Linked DNA regions of Homo sapiens: all the other regions are linked to region 3. Evidence: promoter capture Hi-C in 16 types of primary human blood cells and fetal thymus (Javierre and others, 2016). All regions are on one chromosome and are shown on one strand. Each heading gives the region's core, a stretch centred on a gene start or on the middle of the fragment in contact. The rest is flanking DNA. Distances are from core to core; before and after follow the strand shown.

Evidence for each region. Contacts are between HindIII fragments. The CHiCAGO score rates a contact against its expected background, and 5 or more counts as called.
Region 1: a fragment that was not itself captured here is called in contact with the fragment with the promoter of MRPS18A in region 3 in 4 of 17 cell types (naive CD4 T cells, total B cells, naive B cells and 1 more); the score reaches 6.4 in naive CD4 T cells.
Region 2: a contact is called between a fragment that was not itself captured here and the fragment with the promoter of MRPS18A in region 3, in 1 of 17 cell types (activated CD4 T cells). The highest score is 5.0, in activated CD4 T cells.

Annotation. Positions count from the first base shown.
Region 1 is chr6:44,309,271-44,311,970 of GRCh38, reverse strand. AARS2 (alanyl-tRNA synthetase 2, mitochondrial) reads left to right here. Exons shown (of 22, transcript NM_020745.4): 3 at 436-581; 4 at 810-977; 5 at 1,528-1,672. The region is part of intron 2 of LOC124901322 (a long non-coding RNA gene); the gene reads right to left. Among named protein-coding and RNA genes, the nearest start is that of AARS2, 2.7 kb to the left of the region's middle. The HindIII fragment of the contact is 2,069 bases long and covers 259-2,327 here.
Region 2 is chr6:44,337,699-44,340,398 of GRCh38, reverse strand. No RefSeq gene overlaps it. Among named protein-coding and RNA genes, the nearest start is that of SPATS1, 3.6 kb to the left of the region's middle. The HindIII fragment of the contact is 1,726 bases long and covers 531-2,256 here.
Region 3 is chr6:43,686,477-43,689,176 of GRCh38, reverse strand. It overlaps MRPS18A (mitochondrial ribosomal protein S18A), which reads left to right and starts at 1,386. Exons shown (of 6, transcript NM_018135.4): 1 at 1,386-1,509. The coding sequence starts at 1,398. LOC124901320 (a long non-coding RNA gene) reads right to left here and starts at 215. Exons shown (of 2, transcript XR_007059586.1): 1 at 1-215. RefSeq lists enhancers at 1,016-1,627, 1,573-1,632. The HindIII fragment of the contact is 1,093 bases long and covers 1,091-2,183 here.

The sequences.
Region 1 (2,700 bases), core at 44-2,543, 620 kb before region 3:
AAAGTGCTAGTTGAGCCGGTGTAACAGGAATTACCTCACCTCCCTGATTGGATTGTAAGTCCCTGAAGGGCAGAGACTGTACTTTCTGCCTAATGATCACTCAAAAATTGTTGTTTGAATAAATGGTCAAACAGCAATGCTAAGGTGCTTACTGGAGTTAAAGATCACTCTAGGCTAGAGTAGGCAGAGAATTTCATGTGAAAGTGGGACTTGGTCTGGGACTTGAAAGAAGATAGGACTTAGAAGAAGGGGGAAGCTTTCTGGGCAGGAAAACACTCAGAGGCAGTAATGGTTCATGGCTTATTCTGGGAACAAGATGGCAGCAGAAATGCTTTTGTCTTAAGTCGGGAGCTAAACTCATGTGGCTTGATTACTTCAGTGGGGTCTCCCTCTCACCCGTCTTCCCCCCCCACCCCATGCTGGTTTCTGCTGCAGGAGGAGGCTTGTAACATGGCCTGGGAACTGCTGACTCAGGTCTATGGGATCCCTGAGGAAAGGCTCTGGATCTCCTACTTTGATGGTGACCCCAAGGCAGGGCTGGACCCAGACCTGGAGACCAGGGACATCTGGCTGAGCTTAGGGTAAGTCAGCCCCCTTCTTATGTTCATTCCTGGAGGTCAGGAGGACTGGAAAGTGGAGACTACCAGCACCAATCCTCAGAGTCTTAGCATTTCATTCCAGGATATTGTGGGGTCAGCCCTGTTCCTCCTCTTGCTGAGCTGTGACTTGAGGGAGGGGCTCTCATGGCAGAGAGAGTCCCAGCTTCTGGGTCTGTCTGTCTCCCACCACTCACCTGCTTTTCTCCCCAGGGTGCCTGCTAGCCGTGTGCTTTCCTTTGGACCACAAGAGAACTTCTGGGAGATGGGGGATACTGGCCCTTGTGGGCCCTGTACTGAGATCCACTACGACCTTGCTGGTGGGGTGGGAGCCCCCCAGCTGGTAGAGCTTTGGAACCTGGTCTTCATGCAACACAACAGGTAATAGGGTGCTGAAGCAGGATGAGAATCCCTGACTAGAAGTGGGAAAGGTGGCAATTAGAAGACTTTGATCTGTTTCATATAAAAACAAACATGTAAACGGTGCTTACCGTGTGTCAGGCACAATTCTCAACACCTTATAGATAATAACTGATTTAATTGTAGTCTTTGCCTGTGACAGCTTAAACAAGTCACTGCTATTCTCTGTTGAACTTGATGATCAACGAGTTGAACTTGATGATCTCAGATTTTCTTCTAGCCTTGACATATCTTTCTAGGGGCAAAGAATTCTGTCCCAAGATGGGATGTCTGGTGCCCAGGCAAGGGCCCAAGCAGGGGTGAGAATGGAAATAGCCCTATATGAGGAAGGACAGGACCCCAAGGCCATCATCATCTGCTATTGCAGGGTGGCAGGGGAAGATACTGATTGTCTGGTTCCTCCCACTGTCAGCTCCCTTGGGCCCCCCCCCATTTCTCTACTCCACTTGGGCATCTGTCTCACACCTGTAATCCTGGGTGGGGCCTCACCTTGCACACCTTCCCTGGCCAGAGAGGCAGATGGAAGCCTGCAGCCCCTGCCCCAGCGGCATGTGGACACAGGAATGGGCCTGGAAAGGCTGGTGGCTGTGCTGCAAGGCAAACACTCCACCTATGACACTGACCTCTTTTCCCCGCTGCTCAACGCCATACAGCAGGTGAGTGCCTCTTCCCTTCCAGAAGCCCTCTAACCTGCTCTTCACAGCCCTCAGCCCCATTGCATTCCATCTTTGTTGAGAACTCAGAGTGTTCTCAGCATCTGAGGACAATAACCAACCAAGAATTCCAAGACGTCAAGCAAGACACTAGGATTCATTACTTATTACCTGATGTTCCTCCTAACTCCTTGCCTCTTTCATTTATTTAGAAAATACGTGTTGAGTGCTTACTTTATGTTAAATCCTTTGTGTTTGGTACAGAAGACACAGCAGTAAGCAGGAAAGAGATCATGGAGATTATATGCTAGCATGAGAGATAGACAATCAATAAATGTGTTAAAGAACAAGGTAATAGCTTACAGATTGTGAACAGGCAGTAAACATGGGTGAAAGTAACTAGGAAGAAGGAGGGGTACAGAGGAATCTTAGATAAGGTGCTTGGGGAAGGCTCACCAAGAAGATGACCTTTGAGCTGAGCCCCAAAGGAGGAGTCAGCTACAGGAAGTTCTTTCCAGGCAGAGGGGACAGCAGGTACCAAGGGCCTTGGTACTGATGGATTAGATGGGGAGGGGAAAGAGAAATCAAAGATGGCTCCCAGGCTATTGGCTTGAGCAACACAGTGAATGGCATGACTGTTTACTGAGATGAAGAAGCTTGGGGAAGAGAGAGGTTTGGAGCTAGGTGAATCAAGCTCCCTGCTTTGGAGCATTTCCACATGTGTGTAGCTTATACCCTCCCTCCTTGCCCCGCAAGAAAGGGCTTGACATGTGCCAAAAACTAAAAGGTGGCCAGCCAGCTAAAGGAGAATCCCATGGGATATAGTAGGAACATGTGTCAGTTGGCTTTTGCTGTATAACCACCCTAATGCTCTGTGGCTTAACCAACAACCATGTATCTGCCCCCTGAGTCTGTGAGCTAGCGTTTAGGCTGGGCTTAGCTGGCTCATTCTTTGGTCTTGTGTGAGCTCATTCATCCATCTGTGGTGAGCTGAGAGGCCGCAGCTCCTCTGGGGCTTGGCTGGCTGTCAG
Region 2 (2,700 bases), core at 144-2,643, 650 kb before region 3:
CTGCTGTATGCCAAGCAACTAGCACAGTGCCTGGCACATATAAATGCTCAATAACCATTTATTTAATGAATGAATAAATGAGTGAGTGGGTGGGTGGGTGGATGGATGATTACAATGGTCTGAGCTGAGCCCCTCCCTCTCTTGCTTGCATCCTCCTAGGAGGAAAGAGTCCAGGTTTCTAACCTGAACCACCAGGTTCCAAGACATCAAGATCTATCTGTTGGTCAGGTGATTTTGCAAGGCAGGCGAGTGAATCACAGAAGGGAAACTTTCTCATCCTTAGTGAGTCCTGTGAACTGTGACTCACAAGCCTTCCCTTACTCTGCAGCTTAAAACCTCCCAGGCCACCTTGCCCTCACTCCTTGGGCAAGTTTTAGATGCCTGTCGCACCAGGCCTGCCCTGGCAGCTGTGCCCAAGGTTTGGCGAGGCACTGGAGCCAGCTAAAGTGTTCTCAAGGCCGTGGAGCTGCCTCTGATCAGCTTGGCCCCAACGCACAGCCAGTGTTTTCCCAGGATTGGCACCTGAAGCTTCCTGTGCACAGCAGCCCCACAACCAGAGTTCAGCAGCAGAGGCGAGGGGAGGATGCTAGATGTCCCCAGAAGACTGAGGTTCCTGAAGGTCCCAGAAAATCTTGCCTGTATAGCCGGGAGGGTGAGCACAGTTGGGCAAGAAGAAGGCCTTCCTCAGTGTTCCCTTGCCGTCCCCTGTCTGAGCACCCCAAACCAAGCCCAGCCTGGAGGTTACTGCAGCACCTGTGCAGGAACATGGAGGCCTGATGCAGGGAGGGGCGGTGGTCCCAGGTCCTTAAGGTCAACTCAACTGTTTCTCCAGCTTTAGGGCCCTCCTTTCAGCTTTACAGTCCGGGATCCTGATGTTCCACAAGCCTGGCTCTCCTGGGTCTGAATGAGCTCAGGAAACCTGGGGCTCCAGGCCAACACAAACACGCACAGGGTTTACGTGTGAAGTTTTCCACTGAACTATATAAAATTTCTGGTTATGTAGGTGAAACATAGTTGCATATCAGCAAATTTATGTTATTCAACTTAATCATGAAGGACAAATACTTCTAGCAGGTTTCATGGTGAGGCCAGAGGAGGGTGGGCTGAACTTTAACCCCCTCCCTTCCCCTTTGCTCCTTCTCCCTGAAGGACCCCACTTCGCTTTCAGTAGCTGGGAGCTTGTCTCTGGGAAGGAATGATAGACAGTGAGGCGGGGGTGGAAGCAGGGGGCCAGGCACTGGATAGGAACCGTTGGTTCTGGTTCTCCCCTGGCTCCCCCAACCCCAGACCCTTGAGAGCAGCTGGGGCAGCCATAAGAATCAAGAGCCCAGAGATTAGAGGAAACCAGACAGCAGAGGGAGAAAGATAAACTCAAATAAACTCTACCCCATTCCTCTTGAGTCTTGGCAGGACAAAAAGTGCCTGCTGGAGAAAGAAACTTGAGCCTAGAAGGATGGTATTATTTAATTGCCTAGGGTCAGAGACATTGGTAAAAAAAAAAAAAAAGCCTCGAGTTTGGTAAGCCTCAAGAGCTACAAGCTAAACTGGGTGAGGAGGGCGTCTTAAACACCACTTCTCCTCGAAAGAGCACTGCAGGCTGTCCCTATAGGGGAGCCTCTCTTCCCCAATGTCAAGGAAAGGTCACCCAGCAGAAGCCCTCATTTAACGCGCGTGTCCCATAAGTGTGCACCAGAGGGCAGTATAAACCCAGGTATGGAAAACGGGATGCGCTCATAGATTGTCTACAGTTGACTTCAAGTAAGGGGCATCACAGAGCCTTGTATAAAGACAGCGCTAGGGAAATAGGTGTTGAGTGGATTACTGACACACGGCCACCGTCAGAACCCTTCAATGGTAGGCAGAAGAAGCCTGGCAAAGATAGGGGAGAGAGAGCATTTGCTACCTCAGAACTGACTAACATGGCCAGCTCCCAAATAGCCAGAGGGCCTCCCCATCAGTTCAGGCCAGGAAACAATGACCAGACACCTGCTATGTTCCAGGCACTGTGCTAGGTACAAGAATTTAAAGGTGAGTAAAACACAGTCCTTTCCCTGACTGAGTTCCCCTGATAGCTTTGCCCATCTCTTTACATTTGTTTATCTCATTTAATCCCAACCACAGTGAAGTGCTAGTAGAATCATCCTCTGTTTACAAATGAGGAAAGACAGACTCAGAAGGCAGAAGTAACTCATCCCACCACCGTAACTGGCAAAGCTGGAGTTTAAATCCAGTCTCTTTAGATTCAGAGCCTAAGCTTTCACCACTGTGCCAGAGCCTTCTTATATGTGCCCTCAGCAATGAGCAGGTCCGTTTGTCATCTCAGTACTGGCCAGGCTGTCAGGGCTACATCCTAGGCTGCCAGACCGCCTGGGAGAGGCCTGGGAGGACGCTTGTCCCAGAAACACAAAAGTCCCTTTGGACTTGGATTTCTGAGTAACATAAATCAATGACTAAGATTTTAAAATGTGTGTAACCTATGTAATATATAAAACAGACATGCAGAGTAAGGACAGCAGCTTCTGTGAGTGGAATGCCTATACTCTACAGAACAGGAAAGGAAAAGGCTGAATTACGTGAGGTTGAAGTGGAATTCCTTCAATATGAGGTTTAACCCAATATGGACTAGGAAGTCACTGCAGATCTCTCATCAGAGGAATGATGAGGCAAAAATGGCATATGCTGCCCATCCTTGTATCCCTC
Region 3 (2,700 bases), core at 137-2,636:
TTTTCCTTTCCTGTGGAGCTCCAGAGGAACATCCTATACGTCTCACAAATCTGAAAGAGGAAAAACTGGCAGTTGTATTTTCTCTTTGGTACCATAAGCTTCCTTACAACACAAGTGAGTCCAACTTGTGAAAAGAGTCATCTCCATAACTGCTCTATTAACTAGCTTATGTTTATTGAGCCCTTTTGTTTTGTTTTGTTTTGTTTTGTTTTGTTTTTGAGACGGAGTTTCACTCTTGTCGCCCAGGCTGGAGTGCAATGGTGTGATCTTGGCTCACTGCAACCTCCGCCTCCTGGGTTCAAGCGATTCTCCTGCCTCAGCCTCCCAAGTGTCTGGGATTACAGGTGCCCGCCACCACACCCACCTAATTTTTGTATTTTTAGTAGATAGGGTTTCACCATGTTGGTCAGGCTGGTCTTGAACTCCTGACCTCAGGTAATCCACCCGCCTCAGCCTCCCAAAGTGCTGGGATTACAGGCATGAGCCACCACACCCGGCCGATCACTTATGTTTTATCACATCTAATCTTCAGGGTCTAGTCCTCCCCTAGGCCCTATAAAATAGATTCTACTCATTCATTCAACAAGTATATATTGTACTCTTATTATGTGTCAGGAACTATTCTAAGTGCTGGAGATGTGCGAGTCAACAGAAAACAATGTTCCTGACTTCATGGAGCTTACAGTCTGGTGAGAAGACACATACAAAACAAACATAAAACTGAAATTGTCCCAAGCACTAAGATGGAGAGGCATCTGGTGCTGAGAATGGGCAGTCAAGCAAAACTGTGGAAATAAGGTTTGAGGTGAGCTCTAAGAAATAAGCAGAAGCTAACTAGACAGCTAAAGAGCAGACAAAGGAAATAGCTTGTATCAAGGCCCTGGGGCTAGAGAGAGGTCTAAGTATATGCAAATCAAAGATCAGTGTGGCAGTGGTCAGGGAAGAAGGGGGTATCAATTCTATCCCAGGTCTGCCTGATATCCGATACTCCAGAGCCAGAGTTCCTAACCATTTCAGCCTCTCCCGTAGAGGTCTAGCCCCAGTCACAGAAGCTAAAAGTCCACAGCTCACGTGCAGTGAAGAGAAAGCTTTAAAGACATAGGTGGGGTGTTGCGTGCGATTTTCCTAAGGAAGCCTTCCAGGAAACGAATGCAACCTTGAAGACTTGTAGGCATTGGCAGACAGGAGCTAGAAGACCTCCCCTAGATCCTTAACACGAAATATAGGCTTGACGCAGAAGCCTCTCTTCGTATCCCAAAGCGGACAGGTGAGAGAAATGATGTGACAGGAGCAAGCGAACTACAACCCCGCCCCGCCGTTCCTGCCCCACCACTGCGGCGGCGGGCGCTACGTTCCGGAAGCGGAAATGGACGAGAGGTCAGGGTAGGTTTTTGAAGATGGCGGCCCTCAAGGCTCTGGTGTCCGGCTGTGGGCGGCTTCTCCGTGGGCTACTAGCGGGCCCGGCAGCGACCAGCTGGTCTCGGCTTCCAGCTCGCGGGTTCAGGGAAGGTGAGTCATGCGTCCCAGCAACCTCCTGAAATTAAGAAGAGCGGCAGAGACTGCTTCCGCCAGCCCCGGTGCGCTCCTTCCTACCTTTCCTTCGTCCGATTCTGAAACTTTGGAGGTACCGGCTCCCCAGGCGTGCTTAAAAGCCCCTTCCACACCCTGGTGCCTTATCTTGATCTCCTGCCCCTTGTGAGTATCTTCACAAGGCGGAGGAGGACGGAGAGAAAAGCCTGCTTACTTAGCAGGAGCAGACACTAAACCTGTCCTAGGGCTCAGAAAAGTTTTCGGAAAGGGTTTGCATGTTAATTCTTCCTTCCATGTTCTCCGAATCGCAGTCTCTTTTATTAAAGAGTCTCTGGATCACGAAGGAAGGCCATCTGGGTACCCTCCCAGAGCCTCCCTTTCCACTTTCCCTTCTCAAAATGCTGTGATCTGATGGCGGCGTTCTCTGCCCCGGGCCGCTAGTCTCCCTGTGAGGGGGAGGCCAAAGTGGAAAGGCCATTGAATAGCTGAGACATAGGCAAATGCAGGATGGTAGTTCAGCTTTTCATTAATCTTAATCTGGGAAAGCGGCCTGATTCGAGCATCAACTGAGAGTTTACTGAATGCCAAGTGCTATGCTTCAAGCTGTGAAGGAATTCTGGAGACAGAAAATACAGCCCTTTTTCTGAAAAGCTTAGGTTCTAATGAGATTATGTATATACACACTCCAATAAATGCAAGTTAGCCTTTTACGTGACGAAGTACAGGGAGACTCAGTTACTGGAAACGGCAAACCCAGTTGGAAGTTTTCATAAAGAGGATGTGTCTTGAGCAGGCTCACAAAAGGATGGAATCTGGCGGAGAGTGAAACGGTCTTTTAGGACATAGCCTTCCTTTGTGTACTCCTGGAAGCAGGAAAGGATGAGTGATGTGCAAAAGAAGAGATGTGGGGTTTTTTGAGGATCTGGCATAGTATTGGGCAGCATATCCTTTAACGAAAGCTGAGAAGTATCCAGTGGAAAAGAGTGATCATTGTTGTCAGAGGGAGCAGAAAAGTCTAAAAAGGGCCTAATGAAGGGGCCATTGGATTTGTCTCAGAAGAGGTCTCTTTGTAGCTTTCAAACAGCAATTTCAATAGAGTGGCAAACAAGGAATCCAGTTTGGAGAAATGAAAGAGATAGTTGATGAAGAGATGGAAATAGTAAGTATGTT